Linked DNA regions of Homo sapiens: region 2 is linked to region 1. The links are contacts of gene promoters, found by promoter capture Hi-C in human tissues and cell types (Jung and others, 2019). All regions are on one chromosome and are shown on one strand. Each heading gives the region's core, a stretch centred on a gene start or on the middle of the fragment in contact. The rest is flanking DNA. Distances are from core to core; before and after follow the strand shown. Region 1 holds the start of ZFYVE19 (zinc finger FYVE-type containing 19). Region 2 overlaps NUSAP1 (nucleolar and spindle associated protein 1).

Region 1 (4,144 bases), core at 582-3,081:
CCCAGCTACTTGGGAGGCTGAGGCAGGAGAATCACTTGAAACAGGAAGGCGGAGGTTGCAGTGAGCCGAGATCATGCCACTGCACTCCAGCCTGGGCCAAAGAGTGATACTCTGTCTCAAAAAAAAAAAAAAAAAAAAAATTAGCCGGGCGTGGTGGTACATGCCTGTAGTCCCAGCTACTCCGGAGGCTGAGGCAGGAGAATCGCTTGAACCTGGGAGGCAGAAGTTGCAGTAAGCTGAGATTGCGCCACTGCACTCCAGCCTGGGCGACAGAGCGAGACTCCGTCTCAAAAAATAATAATAGGCCGGGCACGGTGGCTCACGCTTGTAATCCCAGCACTTTGGGAGGCTGAGGTGGGCAGATCACGAGGTCAGGAGATCGAGACCACGGTGAAACCCCGTCTCTACTAAAAATAAAAATTATTAGCCGGGCATGGTGGCAGGCGCCTGTAGTCCCAGCTACTTGGAGAGGCTCAGGCAGGAGAATGGCGTGAACCCGAGAGGCGGAGGTTGCAGTAAGCCGAGATCGCGCCACTGCACTCCAGCCTGGGCCACAGAGCGAGACTCCGTCTCAAAAACAATAATAAAAAATAATAATAATAAAGAATTTAAAAAATAATAATTTGTAAACATAGAGCACTTAGAATACTATCCAGAAAAAAAAAATACTGTCTAGGACATAGTAAGCATTATACAGATGTTAGGAATTATTAATCCTAAAATATTGAAACACGAGAGAGGTGGAGCAGATGCTTTTGATGCTTCATAGACATCCCATGGCCATTTCTGATTTCAGCTGCGGCTGCAGGGGACAGATTTGTGCAGGTTGACAGCATTTCTCAAGGGCCCTCTGGGTCTCTCTGATTTTCTGCCCCAGAGCTTCCTCTTCTCAAAAGCTCACTCACCCCATGAGCAGGGCAGCCCAGAAGTACTGGGACATTAGTGGGCACTATTTTTTTTTCCTTTTTTTTTTTTTTTTTTGAGACAGTCTCGCTCTGTCGCCCAGACTGGAGTGCAGTGGTGCAATCTCAGCTCACTGCAACCTCCGCCTCCCGGGTTCCAGTGATTCTCCTGCCTCAGCCTCCCAAGTAGCTGGGACTACAGGTGTGTGCCACCACGCCCGGCTAATTTTTGTATTTTTAGTAGAGAAGGGGTTTCAGCATATTGGTCAGGCTGGTCTCGAACTTCTGACCACATGATCCGCCCGCCTCGGCCTCCCAAAGTGCTGAGATTACAGGCGTGAGCCACCGCGCCCGGCCTAGTAGACACTAATTTTCTTTCTTTCTTTCTTTTTTTGAGAAAGAGTCTTGCTCTGTCGCCCAGGATGGAGTGCAGTGGCGCGATCTCGGCTCAGTTGGGCACTAATTTTCATTTGATGAACGCCTCTCCTTCGTATATTGTTAAAACTACCACCATGATCCAGGGGGAGATAAAAGAAATCCTAAATCCAGCTTGATCAGTGTTTCACTCCCTGGCATCTTTATCACCACCTAAGGTAGCATGGACCTCTATACCATCTGCCTTAACCTTCTGATCCTCCTGCTTTTAGCCCACTAACTAGCACATGCTGAGAAGGGCATCAGCTACTTGAAAAGAGTCAATGGGCTTGAGTGGAAAAGAAAATAGAGACAGCAGGGTCATCGGTCACATTGGCAAGGGGGCATGAAAAGGGAGTGGAGAGGCTTTGAGATCTTACTTTTCTTTCGTTCTAGGCTCTTAGTGGAAGAATTAAATCAGCCTGCAGAAGAGACTGAAATGAGGCACCTCTTGTCACAGTCAAGGCAGAAGCGGAAACGGAGGCCGAGACTGCGCAGGCGCAGAGGAGGCTAGCGTTCCTTGCTGCCTCGCCCCGCGGCCTCTAGGAGACAGGGGCCACGGGGAGAGCACAGCCACCCGGCGCGAAGAGCCCTCTGTACCCCGCTTCCTCTTGAGGCCCTCGGACCGTCCAGGAAATGTCTGGGAGCCCGCCTGCGGAGGGCATAGCGCCGACCCTCGCTCCCCGCCCAGGACCCGAATGAACCTGGAGAGCGGATGCCAGCAGTGGCCGAGGCGCTAGGACAGGAAGGACCGCCAGACCTCTCAAGATCAGCCTTCCTCGCCACCGTTCTCACCTCTTTGTCCGCTGCCTTCTCCTCAATGCCTAGCAGCGCGTACAGGTCCATCTGTAAGAGCTCCTTGGTCACTGCCATGGTTCCGGCCTGACGGATTCGTACTACAACTCCCAAGAGTCTAAGCGCGCGTGAGGACTGCAGGCTCCGAGCGGCGCCTAGCCCTCTGGGAATTGTGTTCTGGGTCAGGCTTGACTGACTCTGAGGGAGGCCGGCAGTCGTGAATGAACTACGACTCCCAGCAGCCCCCGTTGCCGCCGCTGCCGTACGCTGGCTGCAGGAGAGCGTCCGGATTCCCTGCTCTAGGTCGCGGCGGGACAGTGCCAGTGGGCGTGTGGGGCGGGGCAGGGCAGGGAAGGGAAGGGCGGAGCTGGGGTGAGGGTCCAAGGGGCCCAGGACTTGGCCGGCGTGATCTCAGCTCTGCAGACCCTGCGGTGCTGGGAGCCACCATGGAGAGTAGGTGCTACGGCTGCGCTGTCAAGTTCACCCTCTTCAAGAAGGAGGCGAGTCTTCCCTCCCCGAGGGCTGCAGGGCCAGGGAGGAGAGGAGGGAAAAGCGCGGGACTTAACGTCCAAAGACTTGGTCTTACGGCTCCTTTCCAGCTGTGTGGTTTTGATGAAGTCATTGATCCTCAGTTTCCATTTCTGTAAAATGGGGCTAACATTCTCTCGCTTTCAGGGTTTATGTGAGGGTCCACTGAAGTGCTTTAGGTGAGAGTTCCCTATAAACTGTAAAGCGCGCTGCCGTCGTTTTTGCAAAGCTACTCTTTTCTGTCGGCCCAGTGTAGCATCTGGCGGTTTTCTTCTCTCCACCCTGCTCCTCCGAAGCGCGGTGTCCATCACACCAAGCCCGTTACTCCCTCTGCTCTGAAATCTTCCCCATCCCGCAGCCTGCCCTTCTCCAGGTCGCTGGAGTTAGATTACCACACTTCCTCCTGCTTCCGGGGCACCATGGTGAAGGCTGACTGTCCTGTCCCTATCACAGACCTGCCAGATTCCTCTGGTAAACTGCAGGTTCCCTCTGCCTCAGTTGTGGCCAGGGATTCTGACCAGGAGATGATGGGAACTAGATGGAGTAAATTAGTGTCACGCAGGAAGGCAGGACCGTGCAGCATTCACCAACCTGGATTTTGGAGTCAGCGTTCAAATCTGAGCTCTGCTGTCTTATTGAGGCGGTGACCTTGGTTTGGATAAGTTATGTAACCTCTCTGGCCCTCTCAAAATAAGGATAATCACGGTTGGCATCAAGATTAAGTAAAATAATGTGTGTAAATTGTAAGGAATAAATCACATGATGAATGTTAAGTACTGGGTTTAGTGCCTGGCACATAGTAAGTGCTTAATAAATGGAGGCTATTGTTAGCCCATCCTGAGCCAAGCCTCCCTCCATCTCTGCAAGAGCAGAGGAGGCATCGGCTCTGCCCTGTCTCTCTGATTCTCCTTTGTGGAAGAGTCAGTGGCCTGAAATACTGGGCTTTATCTATCTGTCTTCTACATCCCTGGGTCAGGGAATTGAAGACAGGGTAGAAAGCATGGGAATTTTGTATAAACCTTCATTTGGCTTGAATAAGGTACTGGAAACCGAGGAATTGCTTTACTCACCATCCCTAGGCCTTAGGGGCCCCACTCCTCTTCTTCCTCCCAGCAGCTGGTCATAACTTCAGTGACTTCTCTCTGTGTGTGCTTGGAGAGTCCCTGGGAGCAGCCTGCAGGGGCGGGTGAGAGGGGGATCTCCCGCTTCATGTTTCTTGTAGTACGGCTGTAAGAATTGTGGCAGGGCCTTCTGTTCAGGCTGCCTAAGCTTCAGTGCAGCAGTGCCTCGGACTGGGAACACCCAACAGAAAGTCTGCAAGCAATGCCATGAGGTCCTGACCAGGTAAGAGGCAGGCATGGGTGAAAGTTCAGCCAAGTATGGCAGTGGGCATCTGGCCAGCCCTCACAGCTTTGTACTCTGTCGCGAGAGTCAGCCGAGGAAGTGTTTGGAGTGGGGGGCACTGCCTGGTGGGATGGCAGGATTTATAACACTAGATTTCTTCT
Region 2 (4,144 bases), core at 676-3,175, 530 kb after region 1:
CACCTCCTGGATTCAAGCAATTCTCTTGCCTCAGCCTCCCAAGTAGCTGGGATTACAGGCATGTGCCACCATGCCCAGCTAATTTTGTATTTTTAGTAGAGACAGGGTTTCTCCATATTGTTCAGGCTGGTCTGGAACTCCTGAACTCAGGTGATCTGACTGCCTCAGGCCTCCCAAAGTGCTGGGATTACAGGCGTGAGCCACCACACCCAGCCTACTTTGACTTTTCTATAGGCCTGACTTTTTTTCTAATAACAATTTAGGGGAAGAAATTAATTTTTTTTCTATTTTTTTATTTTTTTTGAGACAGACTTTCGCTCTTGTCACCCAGGCTGGAGTGCAGTGGTGCGATTCCGGCTCACTGCAACCTCCACCTCCCAGGTTCAAGTGATTCTCCCGCCTCAGCCTCCTGAGTAGCTCAGACTACAGGTGCCCACCACCACGCCCAGCTATTTTTTGCAGACATGGGGTTTCACCCTGTTGGCCAGGCTGGTCTTGAACTCCTAACTTTGGGTGATCTTCCTGCCTCGGCCTCCCAAAGTGCTAGGATTACAGGCATTAGTCACTGTACCTGGCTGAAATTCATAATTTTTGCTGTGGCCTTTACCTCTCTACTTGACCCAGCCTCTGGTCACATCTCTGATCTCCCTGCCCTCCATATACCTCAGTGTTCACCATACTTCTACCATAAGGGCAGTTTCTGTCTTTCAACTCATGAGTCCACCTCAGGGCTCCTGTTCTTGGCGCTCGCTCTGCTCGGAGTGCTCTTCACCTGCTGCCTCTTTCCTCATTCACATCTCGGGAGGCCTTTCCCAGCCATCCTAATTCAGGTAGCATCCCCACCCCACCCCAGTTGCCCAGTTTTATTTTTGCATCATAATACCTGACGTCATATCATTCATTTCTAGCTTTCTTGGGTAACTGTTTCACCTCTGCTAGAAGATCCTGGAGGGCAATCACCTTGTCTGTTTAATTAATCACTCTCTAGTGTCTGGAACAGTGCCCAGCACAATAAATGCTTGTTGAAGGAATGCATGAATATATGCTGATAACTAACATCTGCACCTTCAGCACAACTCTTGAACACCACCTCATATCATTCAACCTCCTCACTGGGTTCTGCCACAGGTGCCTCACTTCATGCATTTTTGTATGTTTGGTGAGATTTTGAAGGTATATTAAGAGAGTATTAGAAAAATCAAGAATGCCTGAATTCTGCCCTGCCAATCATCCCCTTCCCAGAGAAAACCTCAAGGGTGGTTCAAGGAACAAGTAGAAAATAAGGTACCACTTTATTACTAGCTGAAATAGTGCCTGATATCTTGATGCAGAGCATTCTGGTAAAGTGGATTGGAGACTGTGGCTTAGGCTTGCACCACAAGCAAAAGCTTGAGCACAAACCAAATTTCAGGATCTCTGCTATTCTCTACTGGACACATGGCCCATGATAAAAGGCATGAGAAGAATAGAGCCAAGCCTGGTGGCTGGGCCCACCTTGAGAAGGATGGCTGTGGCCCTCAACTGCATGGCTGGGTGGAAGAGGAAGAAAAAAAGAACCCAACCAAAAAACTTGACTTTTGTTTTTTAAACGGAGTCTTGCTCTATCGCCCAGACTAGAGTGCAGTGGCATCATCTCCTCGGCTCACTGCAACCTTCGCCTCCTGGGTTCAAGCAATTCTTCTGCCTCAGCCTCCCAAGTAGCTGGGACTACAGGCACACACCACCATGCCCGGCTAATTTTTGTTTTTTTATTAGAGACGGGGTTTCACCATGTTGGCCAGGCTGGTCTAAAACCCCTGACCTCGTGATCCACCTGCCTCGGCCTCCCAAAGTGCTGGAATTACAGGCATGAGCCACCCCGCTCAACCAAACTTGACTTTTAAAGCACAGGAAAATGTAACCAATCAAATTAACATTGTTCTTTCAGGAAAGAACAAGAAGGGAGGTTTTCCTAGGCTGGGAAGAGAAGCTCAGTGTTCCCTTCCCCCGGCAGAGACCTACAACCATCCCCCTAAGACCCCGTCACCTTTTGCATTCCTCATCTTAGGGACCGTACCACACTTCACCAGCTGTCCAAGCCAGAAACGTTGGCATAACAAAGTTTCCCTCTTCCTCAACTCTCATGTTCACACTGATTTCACTTCCTAAGAAGGTTTTGACTTCATCCATACTGCCTTAGCCCCGCTCCAGTTCAGGCCACAGCATTTCTGGCTCATCCCCATCAAATGCATCTTGCACATTGTGCAGGTAGACTACTCATTCTGAGTAATGCAAAATTGGTCACCCACTGCCTTGCTGCAAACTCTTCAGAGACTGCCCTTTTCTCTGAGAGTAAAGTTCATACTCTTTAAAGGCTTACAAGGCCTGGTAACATCACGGCCCTGCTCACTTTCCCAACATTGTCTCTTACTATCTCCTACAAACAGGTCCATGTTCCAGCCACACTGAACTTAAGTTCTTCAAACTCCACCCTCATTGTTGCCTTGCTGTGCCATTCCTCTACCTCTTTCTCTACCTTCTCTTCATCCTTCAGATCTCAGCAATTAGAGACATCACATCTTTATCTGAGAACTGCCCTGTGCAGATACTTGCTGAAGTCTAACCTAGCAGTCCCAACTTTGATGGCCATGCCTACCTATGTTCTCATGACAGCCTGAGCCTCCTAGCGTGGGCATTTACCCCACTGTATTGCAATTGCCTCTTTCCTTGTCTAACTTTCCCACTCAGATGTGAAATTCCTTAGAGCAGAGACCCATTCTTTCTAAGTAATGGTTCTAGTCCTATGGTCTGACCAGAGTACATTTAATGAATACAAGAACAGCAAAAAATATTCAACGTATCTTCCTTGTTTATTTGACTTTTGGCTCTAATAATAAGGTCTCTCTTGCAGGCAACCAAGTTGTTAAAAGCCTTGAAAGGCTACATTAAACATGAGGCAAGAAAAGGAAATGAGAATCAGGTGAGTAATGTTTTTCATGTTTACCTGTTAGCTAGCAAAATAATCATATTTGGTTAATGGGCAATTAACACACAACTAGTGATGATTTAAGACATGCTGTTGGCCAGGTGTTGTGGCTCACGCCTATACTCCTAGCACTTTGGTAGGCAGTGGCAGGCGGATCACTTGAGTCCAGGAGTTCGAGACCAGCCTGGCCAACATGGTGAAACCCCGTCTCTACTAAAAATACAAAAATTAGCCAGATGTGGTGGCGGGAGCCTGTAATCCCAGCTACTCAGGAGGCTGAGACAGGGAGAATTGCTTGAACCCGGGAGGTGGAGGTTGCAGTGAGCCAGGATCGCGCCACTGTACTCCAGCCTGGGTGACAGAGCAAGACTCCGTTCAAAAAACAAAAAAAAAGATATGCTGTTTATTAAAAAAGAGATCATTATTGGTAATAGTGCCAAGGACTGAATCCTTTCAGATTAACTATCTGCTGTTGTGAATGGTGAAACTGTTTTGCGCCAAGTAATCTGTTGAATAACATGTTTTTACACAGATACAAAGGCTGAGTACTAGTTGCCAAGTACTACGAGAGATGGCATGATTTAAGTAGAGAGGGAACTGGATTTGAAATCAGAAACACCTTGGTCAAGTACCAGCTCTCATTTATTTCTCTGCAACATTAGAAAACTCAAACTCCTCTTCTTTAAAATGGAAATAATATCTGTTCTGCTGAACTGAGTGTTGTGAGCATCACATGAAGTAGGGATTGTGAAAGTGACTTGTAAGCTATAAAACACTGCTGATGGCTGATGGGAGTTGTCATGGCCGCTTCAGACCCACAGCAAAGATTTTTGATAAGGCATGACTCCTAAACGGATGAATGAGTGCCCCATTAGAGCCAAGATTCTTTTATTCTTTTTGTTGTTGTAGTTGTTGAGACAGAATCTTGCTGTCATCCAGGCTGGAGTGCAGTGGTGTGTTCTCAGCTCACTGCAACCTCCATCTCCTGGGGTCAAGCAATTCTCCTGCCTCAGCCTCCTGAGTAGCTGGGATTACAGGCATGCACCACCACACCCAGCTAATTTTGTATTTTTAGTAGACACAGGGTTTCTCCATGTTGGTCAGGCTGGTCTCAAACTCCCGACCTCGGGTGATCCCACCACCTCGGCCTCCCAAAGTGCTGGGATTACAGGGGTGAGC

What was found. Contacts are between HindIII fragments. The study calls those that stand out against the background at their distance.
Region 2: a contact is called between a fragment that was not itself captured here and the fragment with the promoter of ZFYVE19 in region 1, in 1 of the 25 tissues and cell types used here (IMR-90 fibroblasts).

Annotation. Positions count from the first base shown.
Region 1 is chr15:40,805,258-40,809,401 of GRCh38, forward strand. It overlaps ZFYVE19 (zinc finger FYVE-type containing 19), which reads left to right and starts at 1,832. Exons shown (of 11, transcript NM_001077268.2): 1 at 1,832-2,611; 2 at 3,862-3,983. The coding sequence starts at 2,333. DNAJC17 (DnaJ heat shock protein family (Hsp40) member C17) reads right to left here and starts at 2,216. Exons shown (of 11, transcript NM_018163.3): 1 at 2,112-2,216. The coding sequence starts at 2,189. RefSeq lists enhancers at 1,495-1,584, 2,045-2,094, 2,135-2,184, 2,815-2,864. The HindIII fragment of the contact is 16,570 bases long and covers 1-4,144 here.
Region 2 is chr15:41,339,496-41,343,639 of GRCh38, forward strand. It overlaps NUSAP1 (nucleolar and spindle associated protein 1), which reads left to right. Exons shown (of 11, transcript NM_016359.5): 2 at 2,891-2,959. Among named protein-coding and RNA genes, the nearest start is that of NUSAP1, 8.7 kb to the left of the region's middle. The HindIII fragment of the contact is 4,302 bases long and covers 1-4,076 here.